Regions from separate parts of the Homo sapiens genome. Here all the other regions are linked to region 3. Evidence: promoter capture Hi-C in 16 types of primary human blood cells and fetal thymus (Javierre and others, 2016). All regions are on one chromosome and are shown on one strand. The core of a region is centred on a gene start or on the middle of the fragment in contact, and the rest is flanking DNA. Distances in the headings are between cores, read along the strand shown. Region 1 overlaps TRIM38 (tripartite motif containing 38). Region 2 has its middle 25 kb from the start of SLC17A3. Region 3 holds the start of CARMIL1 (capping protein regulator and myosin 1 linker 1). Region 4 has its middle 4.0 kb from the start of SLC17A3. Region 5 overlaps SLC17A2 (solute carrier family 17 member 2).

The links. The method cuts DNA at HindIII sites, captures the fragments that hold promoters and counts their contacts. A CHiCAGO score of 5 or more calls a contact.
Region 1: a fragment that was not itself captured here is called in contact with the fragment with the promoter of CARMIL1 in region 3 in 1 of 17 cell types (megakaryocytes); the score reaches 5.3 in megakaryocytes.
Region 2: a fragment that was not itself captured here is called in contact with the fragment with the promoter of CARMIL1 in region 3 in 3 of 17 cell types (megakaryocytes, erythroblasts and M2 macrophages); the score reaches 10.9 in megakaryocytes.
Region 4: a fragment that was not itself captured here is called in contact with the fragment with the promoter of CARMIL1 in region 3 in 2 of 17 cell types (erythroblasts and megakaryocytes); the score reaches 6.0 in erythroblasts.
Region 5: a contact is called between a fragment that was not itself captured here and the fragment with the promoter of CARMIL1 in region 3, in 5 of 17 cell types (megakaryocytes, erythroblasts, M0 macrophages and 2 more). The highest score is 9.1, in megakaryocytes.

The regions. Positions count from the first base shown.
Region 1 is chr6:25,965,786-25,971,363 of GRCh38, reverse strand. TRIM38 (tripartite motif containing 38) reads right to left here. Exons shown (of 8, transcript NM_006355.5): 3 at 4,431-5,029; 4 at 1,944-2,039. The coding sequence starts at 4,841. Among named protein-coding and RNA genes, the nearest start is that of TRIM38, 5.8 kb to the right of the region's middle. RefSeq lists an enhancer at 1-345. The HindIII fragment of the contact is 1,098 bases long and covers 1,539-2,636 here.
Region 2 is chr6:25,896,202-25,901,978 of GRCh38, reverse strand. No RefSeq gene overlaps it. Among named protein-coding and RNA genes, the nearest start is that of SLC17A3, 25 kb to the right of the region's middle. RefSeq lists an enhancer at 3,274-3,863. The HindIII fragment of the contact is 699 bases long and covers 2,145-2,843 here.
Region 3 is chr6:25,275,668-25,280,947 of GRCh38, reverse strand. CARMIL1 (capping protein regulator and myosin 1 linker 1) reads right to left here and starts at 1,574. Exons shown (of 37, transcript NM_017640.6): 1 at 1,113-1,574. The coding sequence starts at 1,152. RefSeq lists a silencer at 1,377-1,846. The HindIII fragment of the contact is 9,381 bases long and covers 1-4,715 here.
Region 4 is chr6:25,875,224-25,881,333 of GRCh38, reverse strand. No RefSeq gene overlaps it. Among named protein-coding and RNA genes, the nearest start is that of SLC17A3, 4.0 kb to the right of the region's middle. The HindIII fragment of the contact is 2,575 bases long and covers 466-3,040 here.
Region 5 is chr6:25,923,435-25,929,401 of GRCh38, reverse strand. SLC17A2 (solute carrier family 17 member 2) reads left to right here. Exons shown (of 12, transcript NM_001286123.3): 2 at 3,523-3,633; 3 at 5,496-5,707. The coding sequence starts at 3,606. Among named protein-coding and RNA genes, the nearest start is that of SLC17A2, 4.3 kb to the left of the region's middle. The HindIII fragment of the contact is 981 bases long and covers 2,700-3,680 here.

The DNA.
Region 1 (5,578 bases), core at 838-3,337, 690 kb before region 3:
TCCCCAGTTTCCTGCTGCAGAGTCATGTGTGGGAGGCAGGCACTCAGATGTGGAAGAGGTTGCCTCAGATTCCTTATAGTCACCCAATTAATTTTCTTGTTCTTCAGCCAAGACACAGGAGAAAGCTGGGTTAGGAGTGCTAGATAATTTAATTGTGAAACTAGGGCCAAGTTCAAACACTTTATCAGTTACAAGGATAAAAAGAGGTTTTTACTTATGATTTAAGAAGTTAGATTTCTGAGTTGGAGCGATTTTCTTGAAGTAAAAGCTTATAATGAACATCACCCAGACTGGATTTTAAGACAACCAGGCTGGTAAGAGGGTCCATAATTCTTGGCAGGGGGAGCTTTGAGTGTGACAGGCATTTATTATGGTTAACTGAGAAATACTGTTCTACTACCCTAGGGTCATCTTAAGCATTCCTATGTGTAAGACTGACAGAAATCAAGTGAAACTCTCATCTGAGGAGATGTAAAGTTGCAATTTCCATTAGTGCTGTCTAAATTAATGCAGTGGGAGTGTGTATTCAGGGCAATTTGAATCTATGTTCTTGGATTGCAGTCTTCAAACTTGGCCCAAATAAACTCTCTACTTATCTTAAAAAAATAAAAATTAAAAAATAAAAATAAATTCATACAGTGTTTTGATGACTATGATATAGAAGAAGGGTCTTTGACTTAGGATGAGGTGGAATTTTTGTGTAGGAGACAGGTGCAGCTTTAACTCTTGTATAGACGGGTTTTCATATATGTTAGTTACAATCAAGGTCTTCCCCATTGCCCAAGATCCTAGAAATGGGGGAAGTAAGAGTGTACTCAGGAGCTCAAGAGCAACATCCACAAACAAAGATCAGGGTAGAGGTTAGAGAGGACTCCTGAAAGAGAGAAAATTGGTAATCAGCTTGTGGGATTTTACTGCAAGCTAGTGAATTATATAAATATAAAGATTGGTGCAAAAGTAATTGTGGTTTTTGCCTTTACTTTAATGGCAAAGACCGCAATTACTTTTGCACAAACCTAAATATTTCCATAAAAGAATGTGGCTCTGATAATGTGGAGGTTAGTCAGCCACGGAAATAATCTGAAAGTTTGTAGTTGCAAGTGTGTAGGTTGTTGCATTACTTGTGATGTACTTATAAATCAAGTATAGGCCGGGTGCAGTGGCTCACGCCTGTAATCCCAGCACTTTGGGAGGCTGAGGTGGGTGAATCACGAGGTCAGGAGATCAAGACCATCCTGGCCAACATGGTGAAACCCCGTCTCTACTAAAATACAAAAAATTAGCCAGGCATGGTAGCACATGCCTGTAATCCCAGCTACTCAAGAGGCTGAGGCAGGGGAATTGCTTGAACCCGGGAGGTGGACATTGCAGTGAGCTGAGATCGCACCACTACACTCCAGCAAGACTCCATCTCAAAAAATAGTAATAATTTAAAAATAAATAAATAAATAAAGTATATTTCTTTCATCAGCTTCATGAGCTAGAGTAGTATGAATTTCAATCTGGAGTGATCCTGTTTTCTAAGTGTTCACAAAGCTTGGTTTCTGTACCTGTAAAGTTGAGAGCCAGATGCTCCACTGTGGTAAAAGTGCCAGGGTAATGAGTTGAGGCCTGCAAACCAGGTTTATTTTGACGTATTTAAAGTTTGAGACCCACTCGATGCTTTTTCTAGGTAAATAGTCATACTAATTCTGCTTCTTCTGACTGAAGTATCAGGAATCCCAGCCAACTACAGTTTAAAGATGGAAAGATTGGTGCTAAATACTCATGGATGTAAACCTGGAACCAGGGGCATAAGTACAAATAATGGTTTCTTCCTTGGGTTTCATTTTTTCAATCTGGTTTAGTGAGAATAAATCCTCATTGTGCTTTTCCTCAATCATCCCCTATGCCTAAGCTCTAGAATGGAAAATAGCTTGAGATCAATGAAGTCAGATTCTTACTTTCCATTTAGTTATTCGCATTGCTGTGGACAGCTTCTGCTCCGTACATCTGTCTTCAAGTTGCTTCAGTTTTGTCACAGCTTTCTGGAGCTTTTCCTGAAGGAAAAATTTGATAAGTGAAGCCTATTCAATTTGACTCTTCATTAGGGACCTAGGGGGAATCCCAATCTTCTAAGATATATTTGAATAATAGTGAATATTTATAGAGTCCTCATTGTTTTTTGCTAGAGAGCATGCTAAAGGCTATATGTGCAGGAACATACTGATCCCCTTGGCAACCCTGAATAGTTGGTAGGATTTTAAACTTCATTTCTGTGCTGTAGAAAATGAGACTAAGAAAGGGGTAAAATAACTTGCCCAAAGGGCTATGACTGCCAGGTGGTGGAGCAACAATTGCAATCTCATCTGCTGACCCAGAGCCTGAGCTATGTCCACCACTAGAGTCCTGCCAGGAAAAAGTTGGATATAGAACAAGGTAATCATCATCTAAAAGATTTTGTAAAACAACATGCTGAACCAAGCAAAACCAATACCAGTGTTTGGCACACATGAAATTTTGTGTCTTATGAGTCAGGAAAAATCAGGATGCCAGCTGGTTATTAGAAACAGTTCATGGAAGAGGGGAATTCTGGTATCTTTTGAACAATGGTATCATGAATCCAATTTAAAATGATTTAGTATTCATGTCAAGCTTTTAGCTTATTCTTCAAAACAGTTTCTCATATTTCTATTGAAAGTGATTTGAAGCTGACCCAAATTGCTAATTGTAGTCAATGCTGAAAGAATTGTCTCCTGTCCTCTGTAAACCCAACAAGTATACTCATTCATTCTCGAGTGTTCTCAGGAAAAGGTTCTATGTAACTGTTTTAGCAAAAGATGACATTGTCCTTACTATATGCCAAGTGCTATTCTATGCATTCTATATTTTAATGTCCTCAAAGCTTATAACCACCTCCTGTGTATGTGTTTTAGGGAGGGAGGACACTGCTATTATCCCCATTTACAGATGGAGAAACCAAGGTGTGAAGACATTAAGTAACGTGCCCAAAATTGCCCATCTAGTAAGTGACAAAACTCAATTTCAACATAAGCTGGTTCCTTTTCTTACTACTTGGTGGAAAAGTAATTCAAATGGGAATATGATCATCGCAGTTATTAGCTGCTCCATGGAGTTTAAGGAAGAGCTGCCATGAGCTGAGTGGTGGTCATGATTGACATGTCCTTAGAAGGACTTAGAGCCTTCATACAAGACCACCTCTGCCTCATGGAGGACAGAATAAGGAGCCTGACACTGGAGACAACATTTTCCTCAAATTTAGGCAGGACAGAGAAGGAAAAAGGACATCAGGACTATGCCCATTCCTCCATGCTGCCAACAGCAAAGTCCCACCTTCCTTAATATGCTTTCTGGCAAGAAATCTGGATGGTACACAAAACCTCTCCCTCTGCTTCACCTTCCACAACCAAGCATTTCCAAATCTTTGACTCTTCTTCCTGAATCGTGCTTAAAATCTGCCCTCTCCTCCCTTTCTTATACGGATAGTTTGAATTTTACTCCTTGATATTCCTTTTATCATAGACATGCCACAGTAGCTGGGCACAGTGGTTCATGCCTCTAATCCCAGCATTTTGGGAGGCTGAGATGGGAGGGAGACCAGGGGTTTGAGGCCAGTATAAGCAAGAAAGGCAGACCATGTCTCTACAAAAAATAAAAAAATTATCCAGGTATGGTGGGGCATCCCTGTAGTCCTAGCTACTTGGGAGGCTGAGGTGGGAGGATTGCTTGAGCCCCAGAAGGTTGAGGCTGCAGTGAGCCGAGATTGCACCATTGTACTCCAACCTGGGATACAGAGCAAGACCCTACCTCAGGAAAAAAAAAAAAAAAAAAAAAAAAAAGTAGAGGTACCAGAGTGATATTTTCAATGTCACTGACCCTTCATTCCCCAAATGAAAATCCCCCAATAGGTGTTCAATTTTTACGTGTCCTTCAGGAGTTACTTCTAAGATGAACCACTCTCTACCCTAAATGTCCCTCCCCACCACCAAAACCAGGGACCTCCAGGCAGACATTTTTGATGGTTTGTTTTCTTTACTAGACTGTAGATACCTAAAAGGTGATGGGTCTTTCTTCCCTGTTTTCAGGCCCTACTGCATGGCTTTACATATTGTGGTTTTTCAAATGATATTCATGGTGTGAAACAAGAAAAAATGCGGGTGTTTGGTTTGAGAACAACCTGTTCTAAAGCAAAAAGAAATTCATCATAACACAAATGGATAGAGATAAGAGTCCAACCATCCCATTGAAGGTCAGGATGGACAGTCTAGATAATTGAGCAAGAAATCATCATAAACTATTTTTCAGAAGAATGACATGATGAAAGCTGTATTTCCAAGTCATAATGTTAGGTTTCAAGTTAAATCATCTCAGCTCCTGGGGAGCAGGATAAGACTTGGTACTTACCAAAGCTCCCGGGCCCACACACTCACCTTGTAGCCCTGGCATACGTCTTCAACAAGAGCTGTGGTGTGCCCTTTGTGCTGTGGTGCCCGCTCACAGCGCCAGCAGATGAGCTGCCCCTCGTCTTCGCAGAACAGGTGGAACTGCTCTCCGTGTTCCTCACATGACATTTCTTGATCCGTCTCTTTGAGGGCTTCAATGAGGCTTCCCAGCTGCTTGTTGGGTCGGAGGCTATCCATATGAAATGGAGCCCGACACTGGGGACAGCAGAATGTCTCCTGCCTCAGTTGCTTTTGGCTTGGGTTTTTAAAGAAGTCTGTTATACACAAGTGGCAGTAGCTGTGTCCACAGTTGATGCTTACTGGGTTCGTCATCAGGCTCAGGCAGATGGAGCAGGTGGCTTCCTCCATCATCTTCTTGGTGCTGGTGGTTGAGGCCATAGCTTTTATTGAAAAGCTCCAATATTGGCTCTAGAGATGGAGATGAAGCAGCCAGAATTTTCCACCGTGATGAAAATACACCTCACCTGCACCTCTATGTGATGAGCTGGCTGCAACTGACTTCCATAGGTCTTGAAGGTTTTCCTTCCAACCCCTATTATCTCATTTTGTATTGAAGAAAAGAGGACCTAAAAGGAAGAAGTTGAGGCTGAGGTTGTTTGGGCCACGTTTGAGAACTGCAACCCAAGTGCAGAGTTTCAAGTTGCCCTCATTAGCAAGCAGTTACAAGTGGTTGTTTAGAGGAAAAAAAGCAGTTTTAAAGCAGTTTTAAAGTTGTTTGCCAAGAATTTACATTAAAATAGCATAAGCTTTTGACTGGCTATACATTGTTCTTTGTATTACAAATCTCGGGAATATGTAGGTAATAGATGAGGCAGCCAGTCAGGAACAAAATGCTTTTAAACATGGGGTCTTAACTGAAGACCTATACTCCTGCCTCACTTGTCCTGATAAATTTTGCATACCTCACATAGCTCAGACTGCTCTAAATTATTTCATTATTTTTCTTTTCTCAGTCTTCTAACTTTTTTTTTTTTTTTTAATGAGACGGAGTCTCACTCTGTCACCCAGGCTGGAGTGCAGTGACGCTATCTCGGCTCACTGCACCTCCGCCTCCCGGGTTCAAGCGATTCTCCTGCCTCAGCCTCCCGAGTAGTAGCTGGGTCTACAGGTGTGCA
Region 2 (5,777 bases), core at 1,245-3,744, 620 kb before region 3:
TGGTGCATGCTTGTACTCCTAGCTACTTGGGAGGTTGAGGCAGGAGGATCCTTTGAGTCCAGGAGTTTGAGGCTGCAGTGAGCTATAATCACCCACTGCACTATAGCATGGGCAATAAGGTGAGAACTTGTCTCAAAAAAAAAAAAAGGGGGGGGGAAACAAATAAATAAATATAAACAAAACTTTTGTTTCAAAATATGTAATATTTAGCACTAAAGAATTCTGAATTGTAGAGCTAAAAAGTACTTAAAAGTTAATAACTATTGTCTCCTTTAAAAGAATTGTTATCAAAGTATAATTTTTATCCAGAAAATCATCCATATCAGCAAGCTAAACTTTCTCAAAATGACATATCCATGTAATTAGCTCCCAGGTAATTAGCAGGCAGCCTCTACTCAGGTTGAGTATTCCTAATCTAAAAATTGGAAATTCAAAATGCTCCAAAATCGGCAACTTTTTGAATGCTAACATGATTCTCAAAGGAGTGCTCATGGAATATTTCAGATTTTGGATTTTTGGATTTGAGATACTCAGTATAATGCAAACATTCCAAATCTGAAAAAATCTGAAATACTTCTGGTTCTAAGCATAAGGGATACTCAACGTGTGTTAGCTAATTAGACCCTTCATGGTCTCTTCTAGACCTCAGCTTCTTCAAGGTAACCTCTATCCTCACTTCTAATAGCATGAACTTTTCTGTTTTAGAATAATTTGGATTTTCAGGAAAGTTGCAAAGATAGTACAAAGACAGTACAGGAGAGTTCCCATATATCTTTCACCTAGCTTTCCCCCATTGTTAGGATTTTACATTATTATGATACATTTGTCAAATATAAGCAACTCACATTGATACATGAAACTCTATTAACCAAACCCTAGACTTTATGTGGATTTCACCACTGTTTCCACTAATGTTTTCTTTCTGTTCCAAGGTCCAATCTGGAATACCACACTGCATTTTCTTGTCATATCTCCCTAGTCTTTTTTTGTCTGTGACAATGTCTCAGTCTTTTCTTGCTTTTCATGACCTTAACAGTCCTGAAGATCATTTGCTTTTTTTTCATAATTACACCGGAGTTATAGATTTTTTGAAATAATACCACAAGGGCAAAGGGCCCTTCTTGTCACATCATTTTAGGGAGAACATGATATCCACATGACATCACTGATATTAACCTTCATCATGTGGTTTAGGTAATGTTTCAGGTTTCTCTACTGCAAAGTGATTTTTTTCCCTTAATTTAGCCCACCTGAACTTATCAATTTTGTTTTCTTCCATGACTAATACTTTTGTTATTATAGCTAAAACTTCATTGGGGCCAAATCTTAGATCATGTAAATTTTCTTCTATATTTTATTCTAAAAGCTTGTAATGTTTGATACATTCTAAAAGATGTAATGTTTGATACATTACATCTAGTCCTTTGATTTATTTTTAGTTACTTTTGTATAAGGTGTGAGAGATGTCTCCAGTTTCACTTTATTAACACATTGTGGTGTTCCAGTACTATTTGTTGCTAAGACTATCTTTTTTCCATTGATTACCTTTGCCTTAGTTGGCAATATTTTTGTTGGTTTATTTCTAGACTGTTTATCTCATTCCACTGATTTGTGTCTATCTTTTTGACAAAACTGTTGATTACAGTAAGCTTTGAAATAGTTCATTTTTTGTGTCAACTTGACTGAGTCAGGGGATAACCAGCTATCTGGTTAAACATTATTTCTGGCTGTGTTTGTGAGCGTGTTTCTGGATGAGATTAGCCTTTGAATAGGTGATCCTAGTAAAGTAAACTGTCTTTCCCAGTGTGGATGGCATTATGCCACCTGATATTCAGGGTCTGAATAGAAGAAAAGGCAGAGGAAGGGGGAATTTGGGCCTTTTTTTCTGCCTCACTGCTTGAGCTGGGACATCTCATCTGGTCTCCTGCTCTTGAACTGGGATTTACATCATCAGTTCCTCTGGTTCTCAGGCCTTCAGATTCAGACTGAATCATACCACCAGCTTTCCTGGGTCTCCAGCTTGCAGATTACAGATCATGGGACTCCTCATCTTCCATAAATGCATGAGCCAATTCAGTCTATGTCCTTGAAAACTGCCCCACTGCAGATTAAGGCTTTTTTCCACTAGGTGAAATAAAGAAGCTTGTTAGACAGATTTCCCTTCATCCAGTGCCCTCTCCTCTTTAAGTTACAACACATTGGCTACACCTAAGTGCAGGGGTGGGGATGAGGGTATAGTCCTCTTGTTTGCTGAGAAGAGAACTGTATTGGGAAAGCTCTAGAAGTGTTTGATACATACATAAACAAGGCATGGTTTTTGCACTTAATTTCACATTACATTTTTCCCAGAAAAAAAGGAATGTATAGGCATCACGTAACTGTACTAGCTGGAGTCATTCTTCCTGATTATCAAAGGTAAACAGTTATTAATCCTATACCAAGATGTCAAGGAGAAGTACTTTTGGAACACAAGGAATTCTCTGGGAGTCCTTACTACTCTCAAGCCCAGTGAAAAAGTTAATGAAAAACTATAGTACCTTCCTATAAGCTGGATGACTAATTACCAGGCTCATTTAGGAATTTGCCTTACCAAGTAAAACATAAGGGCAGCTGAGGTGCTGACTGAAGACAAATGGAGCATAGAATAAGAGTAGTAAAGAATGCCAAAAATGCTGTCATGTATCCATTGACAAAAGGAGCTATAAAGCCTTTAGGTATTTTCACACTTGCTCTGTTACGTAAATGTATGTGTGTGTGTGTGTGTGTGTGTGTGTGTGATCGTTTATTTTTTCCTTCTTTCCCACTAAGATGTATTAATACTGATTAACACTATAAGTTAAGCTTATAGGATAGGCTATCAAAAAATGATTGTGACTGAGCTGAAAAGAACATTACTCAGGATGGATACAGTGAGTTTCAGATGTTTGTATTCTACTTGGGAGCTACAGACAATAAAAAAGTAAAAACATATACAGTTTGTCAGCTACTGATAAGTGCTATGGAAAAAATTAAAGAAGGAAACGGGGATAGGGTGGGATTAGGTGTGGTAGCCATTCTAACCTTGGTGCTGAAATCTATCAGTATTCTGTTCAGCGATCCACTGTCTGCTACCTGGCCATATCCCCCTGGGAAGTGTGAGCCACATTACTAGCTTCATGTGGTGAATTCTGACTGGTCCACACCAGTCATGTGGTCCCTTCTTCTGTAGCTGATTAGCTCAGGCAGCACCTGAGACTAGGCCAAGTTTTGGCAAATGAGACATAAGGGGGAGTTTTCTGGAAAGGCATTCCTTGATCTCCAAGAGAAACGCACTGTTTCTTCCTGCCTTTAACTTGTGTCTGCATGGACACTTGAAACTGTGACCAGCATGGGGGGTAAAGCCTGCTGTGAAGGAGAGCAGAGGCAAGAAGACTGAGGGCAGTGGAGCCAGAGCTCTGATCACCCTGCTCTGGAACCTTTCTGCCTTTGATGTCCTGTTTGGGGAGATAAGAAATTTATATAGTGTTTAAATTTGTTGAGTCAGCGTTTTCTGTACCTGCAGTCAAAAACATGCTGAGTGATTCAAGAAGTTGGTCAGAACTTCAAAAAATTATTATTCTACATTTTCCCCCAAGTTTTTCTGAGGAAAGAGAGTGCTTGGTAGGCAGGATAACCCTGGAAAGTGGCCATGGGGCTGAGGCGGGTTTTGGAGAAATGCAGACACTGTTGTCTGATGTGAGTTTCACCTGATGAGGGATCAGGATCTTCTTTCATATAATTTGGGAAAGCAGATGTTGGTCCCTTTAGATCTGTTAACTGACATTTAGCATTCAAAACTGTCTCGTGATTCACAGAAGTGTTGTAAGATATTATGCAGATTTTAGCACAGCATTCAACCATTCAATCAGATTTTTATAAAGACTTTTTTTTTTTTTTTTTTTTTTTTTTTTTGAGACGGAGTCTTGCTCTGTCGCCCAGGCTGGAGTGCAGTGGCGGGATCTCGGCTCACTGCAGCTCCGCTCCCGGGTCACGCCATTCTCCTGCCTCAGCCTCCCAAGTAGCTGGGACTACAGGCGCCCGCCACCTACGCCCGGCTAATTTTTTGTATTTTTAGTAGAGACGGGGTTTCACCGTTTTAGCCGGGATGGTCTCGATCTCCTGACCTCGTGATCCGCCCGCCTCGGCCTCCCAAAGTGCTGGGATTACAGGCGTGACCCCGCGCCCGGCCTTATAAAGACTTTTTAGATAAAAACAGAATCTATATCTCTAATGTATGTATTAAGGATGAACCCCGGCTGGGCGCAGTGGCTCACACCTGTAATCCCAGCACTTTGGGAGGCCGAGGCGGGTAGATCACTTGAGGTCAGGAGTTCGAGACCAGCCTGGCCAACACGGCGAAACCCTGTCTCTACTAAAAATACAAAAATTAGCTGGGCATGGTGGCAGGCACCTGTAATCCCAGCTGCTTGGGAGACTGAGGCAGGAGAATCGTTTGAACCTGGGACGTGGGGATTGCAGTGAGCCAAGACTGCACCACTGCACTCCAGCCTGGGCGACAGGGTGAGACAACGTCTCAAAAAATAAAAAATAAAATAAAATAAAAAATGAACCCCTCTCTGTCTTACTCTCTGAATGAGTGAGTCTGAAATCCAGTGGGTTTGGCCAAGCAAGGTAGATGTCTGTGTATATATGGGGGAAGGATGTTTAGTGACAGTTGCCTGGAGTGGAGTGAAGAAACCTAAGCAGAGTGAGAGAGAGGCAACAGTGGAGGCCCAGTGAGAGTACTGCAACTTGAATAGGGTGATGAAGCTGTCTTCAAAGGGGGACAAGAGAACAGCCCTGTGTTAATGTTGGAGCCTGACTGGAGTGAAGAGATTATCCATGTGACAGGTAGGCCCATAGCACAGACATTGGCACTTAAGCAGGGTGAGGAGAGCATCCACATAGAGGTGGTAGCTACAAGATGATGGTCATACACAATCAAGATTGGTCCAATGATTAATATAACAAGGATTATTAGAGTTGCCCAGAAATGTGGTCGATCAACTGTGGCCATCAATTACTAAATAGCATAAAAATATCTCAAGGAGAGAAGGCAAAAACTGAGGACTCCACATACAGAAACCTGTCCTTAACATCCTACAGAGAATAATGATAGGCCAAGAAATATTTTTTTGCCCACTGAGTTCACAGTCTCAGATCCCCAAATTGTTCCTGAGTGGAGTTAGATGGATTATAAGAGACCTCCTTATTCATAATAGGCCCAAGTTGGCCTAGAGAGGGAGCAGAATTGGTTTAATGATTCCACTCCAGACTTTCCTGGGATTTTTCACTTCTTCCTGCTCTCCATGCCCTCTTATCACAGTTGCTTGACTGGAAAAATAACAAGTGGCAAGAGAGATGCCTTGCCTTTTTCTTAGAATTCCAGACTCACTTCTCAAGTCACTGAGCTTCTGTTAGTGCAGATATTGCAATGACACTTCCACGTGCATGTGATCGGGACATTTAATGGATCAGCTGCTCAGAGCACTCCTCCAAAGTGGCACTTCCCTTTTTCCAAATTTGGGTCCTGAGGTGAACACCTCCCCAGAGGTATTCATAACAACGTTGAAGTTGTAGAGGTGATGCTCCTTCAGAGGCCAACAAAGAAAAGCTTGGAGGCATATTACATTTTGGATTCCAGTTCCTACATAACTATAAAATAAATTCTGCATCCTTAGACTAAATCAACATAATTGAAGTTAAGCATGGTTCAGATTAAAGAGTAAGCTCATGAGTTTGTTAAACCATTACTTGAG
Region 3 (5,280 bases), core at 325-2,824:
ATTATTAGCTAAAAGAAACAACAGAGGGGCAAATTCCACACATGGAGATCAACGGGTGCTCAGAACTTCCTCTTGTTGTCAGCGCCGATTAAACATCATCTTTGTGAGCTGTAGGCTGTGTAGTGTGCCAAGAATGGTACAGGAGGGAATATAGGTCACTAGGGCTCAAAACACATCTGTACACAGACGCACATACCTTGTTACAGTATAACATGCTACACACATATACATGCTTAAACGCTAGGTTTTCAGAACACTCTCCCATCCTATTTCAGCTCTGCCATTTTAACCCTCCAGATAATTAAGTTAAACCCCAAGACTTAACCAGCCCCGCCCCCACCACCACCAAAAAAAAAAAAACCTCAAGGTACTCAAACAATGGGTCACCTTGCACAGCGTAACACACACGGGTTCCCTAAGAGATCCCCTATAGGGAGAATCGGTAGGTTAATCATTATTAAAATAAGGCTTTTATCATTAACCCTCTATTTCCTGGCCTGAGTCTGCGTCAGCCCTGTAACCCTTTCGCTCCCAGCTGGCTACACCAAGCCACACCTTGCCAAGCCCAGTCATTTTACCAGACTAGCGCCCACTCCCCCAAGTCTGCGTGTCAGAAGATCACCTCCCGCGGGGCATTTTCAGGAAAGCGCCTGACACGTGCCGGAGACGACCTACTGTGCGCTCGCCACCTGTCCTTCCAATAGGCTTTCCCGGACTTTCCCGAGTTTGGGGCAGTGGGCTGGGAGCTGTAAAGGGCTCCCCTCGCTTGCAGAACTCCCAAGTCTAAGATGGCCCGCCCCCTTCTTTCGCCAACCTGGATCCCCGCTTCCGGGCAAGAGGAGGTGCCCAGGGCTCACAGTCGAGACCCTCCTCCCACCCACCTCCCGAGGACTCCCGATTCCTCCCCGAAGCCTTCCCTCTCTGCACTTGGCTCTACAGGCGGTCGGATGGGAACAAACTTCCCGGCACCCCCAGTGACCCTGCCCAACACCACTCTGCCCTAAGGGGCGCCAAGACTTCTCGAGACCTGCGGGAAAGCAGAGGTGGGAAGGGAGAGAGAGGTGAGGAGTACGCAGAGGAAGGTGGAAAACCAACAACCGCGTGAATCTTACCTATCAACTCCCTGGGAACGTCAGAGCTCTCCTCGGTCATGGTTGCCCTGTAGGTGTGGGGGTTATTGCAGGTCCAACTCTGATTTATGGCCCCCTGCCCTTCCCCGAACTCCTCAATTTTTTTAGAGAGGCAGATGCAGCTTGCAAATGGAAGTGGGCAAGAAAAGGGGGGGCGGAGACAGAATTTTGCCGCGCGCCCCCCGCCCCACCAAAAAAAAAAAAAAGAGTTGCAAATGCGAGGCGGATTTGCTGCTGCTGCTACATGACGCCTCCTCGCAGTTCCCGGCGGCTGAATAAGGAGCGGACCGGATTACAAGCGGGCGCGGGGCGCGGGGCGGCTGTGGCGCCTGCTCCTCCTCCCGGCTCGCTGGTCCCCGGCGGGGCTTGGGCCGGCGTAGCTCCCGCCCAGCCTCCGCGCCGCACCTACAGCCCTAGGTGAAAGCGGAAGGCGTGGGAGAGGGCGGGGAGAGCGGCGCGGGGCGGGGGGAGTAGGTTTTCCTCGCGCTCCTGCCGGGCTCCGGCTGGGCGGGGGCAGCTCCGGCCCTCCTCCTTCTCCTCCTTCTCCTTCTCCTCTTCCTCCTGCGTTTCCTCCTCACCTCGCGAGAGCCGGCCTCCGCACCGGTGCGAGGCCGGCCTCCGGTGCCCGAGCGCTGGGTCCCCGGCGTAGGTCGCACCCCCAGGAGAGACGCTGTGCGGTGCTGCGGTGGCGGCGGCGGGCACCGCGCCCCTCCTCGCAGCCTCCCTCCCAAACCGCAAAAGCCCTGCGTCTGGAGAGGGGGCGAGCGGGCTCGCGAGAGAGCCCGGGAGCCATCTGCTGGCTGCGAGGGAGGAGAGCCGGGTGAGCCGGGCTTTCCATTTCCTTGTCCCCACTCCGGGCGGGCCAGGGGACCCAGAAGACGGGAGACGGCAGATTCTGCAGACCCGTCTACACGGAAGCTGGTTCTTTTTGGGACCCTCTTACGCACTTTTTCTTTTTCAACCCTCCCGGTGACATGTCACTTCATCATCGCTATTCTTCATTTCTGATGAGCTAGACGAAACCTGTGAACACTAATCATACCGTGAGAAGACACTTGTGTGTGTGCGTTCAGCTGGTGCTCTGCAGCCGCAGTTCGCTATCTCAGACATTCCCGTTGAGAGCGCCTTGGAAAATGCCTTTCACTCGGAAAAGTCTCTTTTATCCTCGGGGCATATTCAGGAAGCTGAGCTTTAATCACTGGAGCCTATGTAAGCCTGCGGATAGGTCTGATCCTACCTGGGCCCAAACTCCCTATGACTTCCCTGAGCTCCATCCCCAGAGGTTCAACTTCAGGGCCAAGAATACTTTGTGCCTCAATCGCTGCTTTTTAGCCTAGGGCTGGGAATGTCCCAGACTGTCTAATCAGGTTCTGCTTTTAAAGGACAGAAAAGGAGGAAAGGAAAGGGAATCCATGCACTTGGCAATCTAATTTTAAACACTGCTGTTGACCTTGGACCCCTTAGAATCATCTTCAGCCCCACAGCCAGGCCTTACCACTAAGGATTTGCCAACCTGGCCCCTTCCCACCCTCCTTAACCTCTCCCACTCCCTTCTCTATTACAACCAGACTCACTGTTTGCTTCCTCCTTCCTCTTAAGGTTATCTGATTCTTATCTATGTTTTCAAACCCATCCCAATGGTCTACCTTCTTTGTGAATATTTTCCAGGGATTTTCAGATTACTGTGATCCCTAAGCCTCTACAATATGTATTGCCTGAAACACTTTTCTAAACCCAACCATATGGTGTCGTGTTTCATTGCTTGTGTATTTGTCTGGTTTTACTATCTAACTCTTGCATTGTCCCCTGAGTTTGGATTTTTTCTGCCCAACTAGACTGTAGGTGAGTTGAAAGTGGGAATTTATCTTAGACTTTTGAACTTCTTCAACAGCCTAGTTCAAAATAGGTGTTCAATAAACATTTGTTAACTGATTTTAGAGCTTTGGACCTCAGGCCTCCAACCATTTGTTTCAAAAGTGGGCAATTTCTTTAAGCTAGACATTTCCTTAATGCATTAAATATATTTTTTCTGCAGTAAATGGAAATTAACATCTCAAACTGTCTTTCATTCAACCTGGTGTGTTAAAGAGGACTTTTCTGGCACATACCAATGAAGTTTCAGAAATGCCCTGAAGTTTCCAAACCATGTGATAACTTGTGAAAATAAGAACAAAAGTTTGTCTTTTTTTTTTTTTTCCTGTGGCCTGGGTGATGGAAAGAATAAAGGGAAGGCTGTATGGCAGTTCTGTAATTCAGTACTCTTTGGCTTCTTTTAAAGGAAGCTGGGGTTTCAATAAAAGAATCATTTTCACTGCAACAGGATCCTGATTGGCTCCTGCATCTCTGAAGAAGTGAATTCAAATGAATCTCCTATCACAACACTGAAAAATGACTGACTGATTTTGGAAATCAAAGTCATTTACTTCTCGGTTGCAAAACTCAAATATGTTTCAGAATAGCAAGCAGAGAACTCCAAGGAGCACTGTTTATAAAGCTGCAAACCCAACAAGCAGTAAACATCCCTAGCACCGTAAAACCATGGTGCCAGCTTGGAGAATGCAGTTTGCATTCTGAAATGTGTGCTTGTTTACTGAATCGGCCTGCCCCTTCTACTGCTACTGCTGCAAAAACAAACTTTTCTCACTCCATCACTCCAACTTCCTCAAATTCATCCCTGTTTATATAGTCTTGAATACACGAGTGATCAAACCACTACATGAAACTGATTGTGTTACATATGTGATTAGCCATAGCTTCATCTAAGTAAGTATTTACATGTGGCTGTGTTTAAGCCATACAACTAGTACTGATAATCTGAAAGCTGTTAGTAAGATAAAACTTTTTCAGAGAATCCCTACTGCATTTGAATCTGTAAAATGTTTAACATTTAACATATAGTGAGTGGCAACATTATTTTGAAAAGGAAGATGGAGAAGAGTGTAATTTGAAAAGCATGGCAAGGCCAGGTGCAGTGGCTCACATTTGTAATTCCAAATGCTTTGGGATGCCGAAGTGGGTGGATTGCTTGAGCCCAGGAGTTTGGGACAGACCAGACTGAGCAACATAGTGAAACCCCATCTCTTTTGAAACATACAGTGAGTGGCAACATTATTTTGAAAACTTATCCATGGATTTTTATTTTTAATTCTAAGCATATATTCACATCTATATAGTACATTTTGTAATGCATTATGGTCAGAAAACACTCTGAGTAAAAAAGTTTGCAGAAAATAGTGTCCCTAAAATGACACAACATGCTATCATTAGAACCATATCATGTAATGATTAAACCCATGGAGATAAAGCAAACAAAAAAGTTAAGAAGAAATCAGCACTCTAACAAAAAAAAAAATCACAAACTTACGTAGGTCAGTTTCTGATCTCGTCTACTGCATTAAGAACTGGTTTTAAAATGGAAAGGTATTCAGAAATGTGGGAACCACCAGCATTTTACTCCCCAAGTAATGATTTTAAGATTACCTTCCACCCCCAGTAACCATTGGGGAAGGGGCCTTCTTAAGAAGGTGTATTTTTCAACTTGGTTAATAAAGATCTTTCAGGAGGGTAGGCAATGTGAACTAAGCTTGCAAACACCTCTAAGAAAACTTAGTTTATCTCTGACTAGAAGACGGTGGAAGGTAAATGGCTATTAAACAATACTCCTTTAAAGTATTTACAAATGAAATTATATGAGACCTGAGATTTGCTTGAAAATAGCCCATAGGGATGGTGGGGGGTGGAGAGTATTGAGTAGAGATATAGATGAAATCAGAGTGACCTTGTGTTGATTTTTGTTGCAGCTGGATATCAGATCCATGGGAAGGCATTGCTTTCACTTTTGTATGTGTTTGCAATGTTTCATAACAATAATAAAACAGAACGAATCCTTAACACATGACTGAACAAAAAAGAGGAAAATCAACTCAGTCATTAATTCAGAACACATCTGTTTGAATGTGACATAATTAGAGCTCCCAGTTTTACAATGGTTTTCCAACTTCAGAACACTTGAACACTTCAATAGATAACGTGTTGTCTTGATTCAAAGAAACATTTTCTTATGTTAAAGTTACTGAAATCTGAATGTTTTATAATTGATATAGATGGTTAAAATCATGCTCTTCACACCCCATTCCCAACACAAATGCAA
Region 4 (6,110 bases), core at 504-3,003, 600 kb before region 3:
TGTGGGCTGTCAGCTTTCCCAAGAGGTCTCATTCTAGGGTGGTCAGCCAGGCTGATGTAAAAGAGGGTTACAGGCCAAAGGACGCTCCTGTAATGGCCTCTATCAGCCACATTTCTGCCAAAGCTGGACTCTGCAGAGTCCAGATCTGGAGAGTTCAGTAAGGTCTGTAACCTGTAGTTTTATGGAGGATACCCTAGGCTTCATTTCTAGATAAGCTTGTGTCCAAAGCATTGGTTTAGATTGATTTCCTTTTGCCTGATACTAACTCTAAGGGTAACAAAATCCTGTCTCTGGAATGGTGTTGCATCTGCTAGGAATGAACATTTGGCGCAATCTGATGGTTAGATGGTTTCATAAATATCTGTACATATGGCAGATGTTAGTCTAAAATTTACTTTTATTAAACCTAACTTTAGATCACCTTAAGTTTCTTTGATGGCTACCATTGTCTAACAACTAGAAGCTTACGTCAGTTCCCAGACTGGACTGTGGAATAGAGTTTGACCTAGAGTAAAGAAAGAAGCATGCGTACAAAACACAACCTTTGACTTTGGAGTCCAGAGGAGAAATAGATGTAGCTGCCCAATAAACCCACAGGGTAATGAAAAGTGAAGCAATTACATGGTTGAACAATTATCTTCTAGGCCGTCCTTTTTGAAAGTCCAACCAAAAGCATTATGTCTGGGAATCAGAGGCATTATCAATAGAAATAAAATACATAAAACGTGCAGTAAAGAGAAGAATTTTAACCCTTTTGGAGTATGACTGACCTAGAGTAAAAAATATACATTTTTAAAGTGTGCTGCAATACTAATATATAGGCTTATATGTAAACACATGTGTTGCAGCATCGAAAGTTTCACAAAATAATCCTGACTCTTACTAAGTGGGATGCACTATGATCTGTTCCATTCTATTTGGGCCTCATCCATCTTGTTTAAAAAACCATAGTGGCTAAATTGATAAGAGGTGCTAAATTGATAAGAGTAATGACCTGTAGGTTGAAAATCATTGGGATGATGGGAGTGACCAATCAGACAACTTGGCACTGCACCCACAAGGCTGCAACAATTGGTTCAAATGGTAATAAAGTACTCTGGGCTGGGCCAATAAGAGCCTCTCCTAGGTTTTGAACACAGCTGCTTTTTCTTCGCTTTCATGGATGTGATGAATGAGACTCCAAAACTGCCAACAGACTTGTCTGTTGCCTCTTGGAGTAGATTTAAGAGAAGGGAGAAGGTGCAAAAGAACAGCTGAAATAAGAGTTCCAAAGGTCTTCATTTATTTTGGGGCAGAGATTTAATTCCAGTCTCTGGTCCCTGGAACTGTGCTTGTTACAGCTGCTCATTCTTATATTCTGTGACCTACCTCAGTCTCCATATTTTCTTTTTCTCTTTCTTTCTCTTCCAAAGCCATTTCAGTTGGACTTCTATCACTTGTAAGCACAGGTGTCTGACAAATAGAAGCCACAACTGAGTACAATAAAAACTAAACTCTGCAATACAAAGGCCAATAAATAGGTTTGGCCCTTAATCCTCTCTTGTAACAACATTGACATGATCTTGCTCCTCATCCTGGTTTAGCACCAAGAGAAAAATAAGAGTCTGAGTGGGAGAGGGAGGAATCAAAAGGAACTGAGCCAAATTAAGAGCTTTTGGTGTAAATGTTGGAAGCTGAGAAAAGCCATGTCAAGCCGCAGCAAACTCCCCTTCATAAAGGAGGCAGAGGGAAAAAATAAAATAAAAAAGAGGAGAATAAGAGAGAAATTACCCTTTTCATTTTTCTCCAAGCTAAGACTTGCAATCTAGCTACACTTTAAGTGATTGATGTGGTCACTAGGGGCTAAGAAATAAAAATGTTTCAGGTAAGAACATGGAGCTCCCAGATTCAAAATGCCAGCACCTCATACACCCATCCCGGCAGCACAACCAACATTCACCCTCATCTGCTAAGACAAGTTCTCAGAATCAGAAAGTTCATTAACCTGAACTTCAGTAGTAAATAACATTTAAGTTTTGGAAAGGTATTCTTCTATTTGGCAATTCAACACCATCGCTTGTAACAAAAACCAATAGACAAGTACAACTCAACATCCTCAAGACAGAGCACCAAAATTAACAGAAAAACTAGAACCCCTCTCCAAACTAGAAGAATGTTAGTATAAATATTTAACATAAATAAATGAATAATATCAGAAATATATGCTGACATACTTAAAACAAAAATTAGATATGTGAAAAGGAAGGTTTTCTTAGAAATGACAAATATCCTTAGAATTAGGGAAGAAGGAAAGAAATAAGAAAGGAAGGGAAAGAGGAAGGAAAGAATAAGAAAAAAATGAAGCAGGGAAGAAGGAAGGAAAGGAGAGAAGGAGGGAAGGAGGGAGGAAGGAAGAAGGAAAGAAGGAAGGAAGGAAGGGAAGGAAGGTAGGCAGGTGATCTCAGGAATTTGGAAGAAAATTGATACAGGTGAAATTCACAGTAATGCCAAGATACAAAAGGAAGAATAATGAGAGGGAAATTTTATAGGAAACTGATGTTGAAAGTTGGTTTCAATGTTTGCGTAACAGATGAAATAGTCTGGAGGGTAAGAGAATGGACACAACAGCCAGACTTTCTGGGTGGTTGGATTCCTGACTCCGTAGCTTACTAGCAAGTTACTTAACCTCTCTGTAAACTGGCATAATAATAGTACCTACCATAGAAGTTTGCTATGAGAAGTAAAAGTGTTATTGTATGTAAAGTGCTTAGAATAGTGTTCAGCACGTATTTAGTGTTAAATAGGCCTTATTACAAGGAGTCTCTGAAAAGGGGGTGAGGGGCAGAGTAGAAGAATGATTACAAAGAAAGAGATAACCACCATCTTTATTTGAGGATATATTTAGTAAATTAAATTATATGGAAAATTATTTTGGAATATTGGTTGGAATGGCATATGGATTAGTCTGGAGAGACGAGATTTTTACATTTTTGAATGTTCCTGTTCATAAAAATGTTATGTCTCTTTATTTAGTTCGACTTCAATACCTTACAATAAAGCTTTACAATTTTCTGCGTAACGATCTTCTACATCTTTTATTAGATTTATTCCTAGGTTTTATATCCTTTTGTGGCTGTTACATTCTTTTATTGCCATTGTGAATTGTATCTCTTTTTATAATATCTTTTTTTTTGTTTTGGGCTGGTAATTAAAATGCAGTCAGTCTTTGAATATCACTTTTCCATCTGTCAAATTTGCCAAACTCACATTAGTTAAGTAATTTATGTACAGATTTTTTTTGTTTTCTTATGTAGACAATCATATCATCTGTTAATAATCATAGTTTTACTTGTTTTCTAATTGCTTCACATTTCTTTCTTGTGTTATTGTGCTAGTTAGGCCTTCCAGTGAATAGATGTAGCAAACACCTCTTTTATGTATCTGATTGTAACAGGAAGATTCACCTTCGGAATGTTTGTTGTAGGTTTTACAGATGCTGTTTATTAAATACAGGGAATTTTATTTTATTCATTGTTTCTAGGGAATGCTATCCCTTTACATTTCTTTTTGGAATGCATACAGTAACAATATTTTTTGACTGATGGCTGACTGCCTCCAACTTTTTAATTAAATTATATTTGATTATTTTGAATGAATTTGATTTTTAATTGCTTTATTTCAATCATGAATATTAATCATGACGTCTCAGAGGTGGTCATAGAAATAATAATGGTAATGATAATTATGACAGATGACCTTCATTGATTGATTTTCTGTTATATGCAAAGTATGGTGGATGGTTTCATTTTGTTTCATGATTTATTCCTAATTTTTTTCAATGATCTCCAAGTGAGACTCAACAAAGTAAAATACATTTACTCTAAGTCCCTGGTAGTAGGTGAAGTTGTCTTGATATGAATTCAGCATGGTATAATTTTGTAACTTGTGCTGGTTAAAGAATGCAACACTTTCTCACTTGATAATTATGACATCCTTTATGCACTACAGATATCAATTTTGTTTACTATTCTATCTGAAAGCATATAACACCTCAGCCCATAAGCACTCCTGATTTTTTTTTTGTGTATTCTCCTAGAGATTATACTTGTCACAATTGTTCTTTCTTCTTTTCCATAGCCATTGTCCTCAATATATGATTTTGCAGTTTTAGCTGGGCATTCCTGGCAAAATAGTTGCTGAAAGAAATGGCATCGAAACTGGAAAGTAGACTAGAAAGCAGACATGTGTAAGGAAAAAAGTAAGACGTGTTTTCAGTATGGCAATCTAGGACATAAGTTAATGCATTGTGTAGATAACAAAAAATGCACCATTTTGCTCAGCGATAGAAGACAAAATAATAGAGATGGAGTGTTCCACTAGTGTTCTAGATGGACTTCCAAGCCCATGACCAGATGATGTCAGCCTGATAACTACAGTGACCAGATTGACCCCATTTGTCATAGAGATGGTAAGGCAAAACAGGAGTCTGACTTGAACTTGGAGAAAAAAGGATTTGCCAGAACCATGAAGATGTAAGGTTCTGAGCAGATATAACATCACATATGGGTTCATTGTTTAGACCAGAGTGTGTGTGAAAAACCAGCCAAGCTCCAGTGAATGACCACTGCCATTTAGTCAAGTCTTCTGTTTTAAGACTTAGGCTCATTCAGTGTGTTTGCTTGACAGCTACCCCTGATTCATCAGAATCCCTGCTGACATTGTGAGCTTTGAGGGAAGGTCTGACTCTTAAAGGTGCTTCCTCTCCCTGGACCCATCCTGGGCTTCCTCTAGGAAGACTAGAGACAGGTTTCCTATGATCACAACAGGATTGTGCACTGGAGTCCTCTGAAATGTAACCCAGAATCAGAGCCTGCATCCTGCTGAGCTGTCATGTGACTGATTATTAACAACAATGTTCACAGTCTTATGAAACAAGTCTGAAGATAGCTGTTTTTTTTTTTTTTTTTGGTTGTTGTTTTGTTTTAGAGAGAGTCTTGCTGTGTCATCTAGGCTGGAGTGCACTGGCATGATCATAGCTCACTGTAACCTTGAACTCCTAGGCTCAAGGAATCCTCCTCATCAGCCTCCTGAGTAGTTAGGACTACAAATGCGTCCTCCATCTCCAGCCAATTTTCTAAAAAAAATTTGTAGAGAGGAGGTCTCACTGTTGCCCATGCTTGTCTCAAACTCCTGGCCTCAAGTAATCCTCTGGCCTTGGCCACCCAAAGCACTGGGATTACAGGCGTGAAGCACCACGCCTGGCTAAAGATAACTGTTAAAGGAGAAATGTGTACTCTATCTTTTCTGATGATCCCCATGGCTAAAACAAAGCAGTTTAAAAATAAATCTTATTCAAAAGGAAAATGTAAAATTCTTTTTTTAAAAGAGATGGATATTACAACCTAAGTCAAGGAAATATCTCAATTCATATTCAAGTGTTTAATCATAGAGGTGAAGAAAAGCTGAATTGTTATTCTTTCTACACAGAGACAATTTGGGTCTATTTCTACCAAGTCAAACCAAGTAGCATGTAAAGAACTCAGGAGCACTTTAAATAAAGTTAAACATTAAATTGCAAAACCAAGTAACGTTTTCTGACTTGGATAATTCAGGGTCAGAAACATTTCCTGTGATATGTGAATCCCAAAGTTGATCATTATTTATCCCAGGGTCCAGAGTCCTTCAGAAATGACTCAGGGAAAAATCTTTTACCTAGAAAGGTGAAATTGACACTACCCCCACACGATAACGGGCTTAAATTTTCCATACTTAAATTCTTAAAGTGCAGATGGAAGAAATCTGTTTTTTTTCTTTTATGTTATAAAGAATATAATAAAACTTACCTGAAAGCATTGTGAGGATGACATGTAATAAATGCGCAGTAAATGGTAGCTCTGACTCCCCAGGACCCGGGTTCCTCCTTCTGAATTCTTGATCTGTGATATATACTGCCAGGCTCCCACTTCTCAGCCAGGGTGTTGAGAGGTAGTTTACTCACTCTCCTCTCACAATACAGTTCAAATAGGTATAAAGAGTCAAACTTAGAATCTAAAGGAGATCTCCTCAGGGCCATAAAGTAAGAAGGGATTTAAAGTCAAAGTGATGAGTATGAGCTAAGGCCAGGAAAGCCA
Region 5 (5,967 bases), core at 1,941-4,440, 650 kb before region 3:
TTGCTGTTGCTAGTATCTAGAATATTATACAACATATAACACTTTGCAATTTACGAGGCATGTCTCATACTTTTGTTTTCACTCCAAACTGCCCAGTGAAGTAACATTATCCCAATTCTTCCTATGAAACAGTGAAAGCCCTAAGAGTTTTTGAAACTTTACCTGGTTTACTCAATTTGGGAATGGCAGAGCAGAATTCAGTCCTTGAATATCCTCCCACTGCAGGTTCATGCTCTTTGATCTAGGTGTAACATTTACTCTGAGTAAACTAGGACTCTGGGCTAACAGAGATGAAGCAAGACAGGCTGGATATTAGGAGAATCTAAGAGCAATCTAACGACCATTATAATAAAATCATGAGTTCTAGACTTAAAAAAAGGGAAAAACCTGTTTTTTTGCTTATGCGTATACCATAATATTTACATTATTTATTTTTTTCTCAAATTCAACCTATACTGTGTCAAGTAATTTTTTTTAATATAACATTTTCCTTTAACTTAATTTCAATTCATTTTTCTGTGTCTACTTACAACTTTGGCACTAGAATTCACAATTTTTTTTTAGAGGTATATCTCCTTAAAGGGAAGGGTTCTGACACTGTTACATGTTCTCAATTGTTTGCAAATAGGTTAATAATTATTCCAGTGTCTCTAAGTACATATCAACCATGCCAGTGTTCAGCCTCCATAATTTTATTAGCTTCTGTGCTTATTTTGGAAAAACATTTCCCATTACCATGAAAGACCTCAGTTTAGGATGGTTTGGTATGTTAGCCTGATTTCTGCATTCGTCTCATGCAAAGGAAAATAGGAAACGAAGAACTGAAATTACCTATTGATACAAAATCAAAGTAGCATTTGAAACCATAAAACTTAAGTAGGGCTTTTCATCCTTTCTCGTTAGACAGCAACAGAGAATGGGAAGAAAAACTAAAGTGATGGGTTTGTGATACAATTCCAGTAACATAAAGAGCAAGGAGAAGTAGTTTTGTTGTGTTTATGTTTAATATTCAAAGCTCAACCTAAAAGTATTTTTCATTATCAAACTTCCTTCTAGAATAAATGATTAAAACTTGATTTAAAATATACAAATTCTCCTTTATAATACCTCAAAATGGAGCTACCCCATTGAGTTTTAAGCTTGTGATTAAAATATTACGAAAACAAAGGGGAAGTTGTAATAGGTAGAACAAGCAGTAGTCTAGGCATTAGGGGATCTGGTGCTGGCTCTGTGCATCATGTGGTTTCAGGCAACTTTTCAAATTTTCTACGCAAATTTTCTTATCAATAAAATAAACAGTTGGGCCAGAGGATCTCTGAGTCTCTTTCAGCTTTCAGTGTTTATAAGATTGGAGAAGTTGGTGGGAAAGCTTTAAGTGGAGTGTAAGTAATTGCAGCTGCATGTACAGTTAAAGAGTTGCCTTCAGCCAAGCCACGGGATCTTGCATAAAAAGTGAAATCAAATAGAAAATGGTCCAAACTCTGGGTTTGACCACAGATGACTTCAGCTAGGATCTGAGTGTAGAGCAATGAGCTGAACTCCTGATATCCAGATGTTAGCAAGACTTGGAGGCCTTCTAAGGCAGAGCAACAACCAGTATCTGTCCTGGTGCTGACCTGATCTTACTAGCAATTGGGCCTCCATTTGGGTCCATTGTACAAAACAACAACAACAACAACAATAAAATCTCCAAACACCCAAAATTCAAAATTTAGATGGAGAGATACTATTCCCAGAATTCTAGAGATATTTGGAAAGCAGAAAACTATACTTGCCATGCTGATGAAGTCCAATTATTGCTCTTTTAAATACATTTAGCTACTTCTGAATATAAAATGAGTATCTACTAATTATTTACAAAATCACTTGGTAAATATAGAAAGTCACAAAGAATGAAGTGATCATCCTGTTTTGTAACCCAGAAATAGTCATTACTGGCACTTGTGTGAATCAGTTTCTATTCCTGTATGTGGATGTGCACAGCGTATCCTGCTTTGTACACTAGAGTACTAGCATTTTTCTAATGTAATTCAATATTGTCGAAAACATTTTAAAATAGCTTCCATCACAATAATCTATCAAATTGACTTGCCAGACTCTCATTATTAGGTTAATTTATCTCTAACATTATGCAGTCATGAGTAATACTACAAAGGATATTTTTGGACACAATTTTTCATCTATGCCTTTCTTTATAATCCTTCATCCTAAGGTCACAGATTATGAATATCTTTAAAGTACGGACAAGTCTTTTAAATTTTGTGTGCAAAAACAGTGCAAAGCCTTGAATGATAAAATAGAGGTTTGATATATGTGTTTTTTTGTTTGTTTGTTTTGAGACGGATTCCTGCTCTGTCCCCCAAGCTGTAGTGCAGTGGCACGATCTTGGCTCACTGCAACCTTTGCCTCTTGGGTTCAAGCAATTATCCTGCCTCAGCCTCCTTAGTAGCAGGGTCTACAGGCATGTGCCACCACACCCGGCTGTTTTTGTATTTTTAGTAGAGATGGGGTTTCACCATGTTGGCCAGGATGATCTCGAACACCTGACCTCAAGTGATCCACCCACCTCAGTCTCCCAAAGTGCTGGGATTACAGGTGTGAGCCACTGCACCCGGCCGATACATGTGTTTTTAAAGTCACAGAAATTTCAGATGTCTTGAAGGATTTTAAGCAATTTAAAAAATAAAGTCATAGAAGCTTCAATTTAGGAATGAATGGAAAATTGATGATATTCTTAGGATATGGATTTTTCCTAAAAGAAACAAATGTATGCATCCCCAAAGATAATTTGATTAGTATACAAATATTAAATTAAACATGTCCATATTTAGAGCCATGAATTCTCTTTGCCTGTCACAATAGCTGGATTTATTCACAATTGTAGTAATTAGTCCCTGTTCATTATAATTTTCTAGGTGATATGAAGACTTTGTCAGTCCAAGCAAGTGTCCACATTGTGTGTAGCAAACATGAGAATAAACATTTTAAACTTTTAAATGTAATACATATTAGTGTTATGTAATGTCATCCTTCATGTTCGAAGGCACATGGAACATTGTTCTGGTGGTACAGAGGGGAGAGAAACACCATCAGAATGAAAGGAAAGACCGCTCTGGAACCTTCCTCCTTAGCTCTTGAGCTTAGTTTAATTGTCCTGTCTTATGGTCTGCTACAAGCAATACCACTCTTCACCTTCGCATGCTTCTCTGTGGTTTGATAAAGTACATGCAATTTTTCATTTAATTCTTCCAGCTGCACTAAGAAAGGAGCCTTATCTTTATTGAACAGATGAGGAAATGAATGATTAGAGAATTTAAATGACTAGCTCTAGGTCACACAGCTGGAACTTACAGCCAGATTTCCTTTTAACAATCCTGTAACCAAAAGCATACCAGTAGTGCCCCATAAAATGTAAGTTATAGAGCTGTGTTGGGTCAAAACTTTTACTGATGCTAAGAGGAGGCAACATTAACAAGGGGAAATTATTTGTGTATTATGTTTTGGATTATGTTCTCTCCATAGATAAAAGACTGTCGTAGTAAAAGAGATTCAGGGCACAGGGAAACTCCACCACAAAGCGTGGTACCATTTCCCACAGAAGCTAAATGGACGGGAAGCCTGCCACCAGGAAAGGTAAAGCCACTGCTCTTGTTTGCAGGCTATGTTAATAAGCTGAAGCTTATTCCGACACATTTACACATCTCTGCATCACACTGACCCTTCGTAAAGATACTCCCAGTGTAACATTGGAGCCAGCTCCAGCCCCTGATCCTGTTGCTTTTTCCTTAGCCCCATGAAATCATCTGTGAGAAATTAAGCCAAATAAGCAATAAATCCTGGGATCTAGGGAGTGGAATAAGTTTTGGGAAAGTCTTTTTTTTTTTTTTTTTTGACTGAGTCTTGCTCTGTCTCACAGGCTGGAGTGCAGTGGTGCGATCTCGGCTCACTGCAACCTCTGCCTCCCGGGTTCAAGTGATTCTCCTGCCTCAGCCTCCCGAGTAGCTTGGACTACAGGCACACACCACCATGCCCAGATGAATTTTTGTATTTTTAGTAGAGATGGAGTTTCGCCGTGTTAGCCAGGATGGTCTCGATCTCCTGACCTCGTGATCCACCGGCCTCGGCCTCCCAAAGTGCTGGGATTACAGGCATGGGCCACCACGCCTGGCCCGGGAAAGTCATTTTAAACCAACCTATGTATGAATCCCTACTATAATATTCTCACCAAGCGGCTGGCTCTTTCTCCTGAGCTTGGAAACCTCCAGTAAAATGGAAATAATTATTTCCCAGACCACCACTCTTATCTGTGAGCTTTTTTGGCCATTAAAAATTATTTCTTCCATTATATTTTTATCTGTGTCTTCACAGGTTTTCTCTTTCTTTCACTTTAGTGCTTTTCTTCAAATAAGCAGGAAAAATCCAATCTATCATGCACATGGGAACCCTTTCAATATTGGTCTGTGGTTGTTCCATTTTATGGGGATGCTTTTAAAGAAAAAATTTGTCCTTTCAATATATTGAATATCTTCCAGCACCACATCACCTGCAAGCTTTGTAAAAATAGTTCTACATATTAATTTTTTTTTTTTTTTTGAGATTGAGTCTCATTCTGTCACCCAGGCTGGAGTACAGTGACATGATCTTGGCTCATTGCAACCTCTGCCTCCTGGGTTCAAGTGATTCTCCTGACTCAGCCTCCCGAGTAGCTGGGATTACAGGCATGCATCACCATGCCTGGGTAATTTTTGTATTTTTAGTAGAGATGGGGTTTCACCATGTTGACCAGGCTGGTCTCAAACTCCTGACCTCAAGTGATCCACCTGCCTTAGCCTCCCAAAATGCTGGGACTACAGGCGTGAGCCACTGCACCCCACGTAGTTTTTTTTTTTTTTTAAGTTGAACATATGTGAAGGCAGGACCTAGTGACACATAGCAATAACATTTCCAAGTAGACATTACACTAGGGAATTAGTCGAAGTGCTCATTTAAAGTACCATCTCTCAAATGTATTAAAAGAGAATCCTTGGATGTGCAATACCTTAATTCAAAGGCAGCTCGTTATGTATAAACTCTCAAGCTTTGTGATAAACAAATGTGCATAACAGATGGGACTATTCACTTACAGCCCAGGGAATTTTATTGACGCTGAGAAGGTTATGTGACTGGCTCTGCCACTGTCATCCCCATTCACTTCATTTTGGAGCAATATGACATAAATGCCTTACATGTGGGTTTTCTCTATTTATCATGTGTTTCCTATCCCCTTGAAAGATGGCCATATTTGCTTTACTTGGTTATAAGATCCCATATTCGCTGTCTTGAAGCCAACCAAATAATTTGACAAAGTGGGTTTGTAGTGCTGGCTATTTTGGTGAAAAAAAGACAATGAGACTTCATGTGTCATCCAAAGTTCTATCAGATCGAGCTGTGAGAGAAAGGAAAAGAAAGGGGTCTCAGTCAGGATGCTCACTACATACATCTGTGTTGTTGTCTAGGTCCAGATTTCTGTTCATTACGCTATGGGCTGGCTCTTATCATGCACTTCTCAAACTTCACCATGATAACGCAGCGTGTGAGTCTGAGCATTGCGATCATCGCCATGGTGAACACCACTCAGCAGCAAGGTCTATCTAATGCCTCCACTGAGGGGCCTGTTGCAGATGCCTTCAATAACTCCAGCATATCCATCAAGGAATTTGATACAAAGGTAAGTATGATGGAAAATAGGGCTCTTTGTTGAGAGAAAAAACTTTGAAAGGAAGGCATAGATCTTGATTCTGTGGAGTATGGAAGTATACATTTCCAATGACAAATTAAAACTGACTGGAACTATTTTTCTTTGAGACATTGCTTACTTCAATAATAAAAATAAGATTTCATTGAGGTTATTATGATTATAAGGTGGGGGAACTGTAGAGTTAAATGTGAAAAATTTAAAAATGGAACAGTTTATGTGATGTCTTCAAT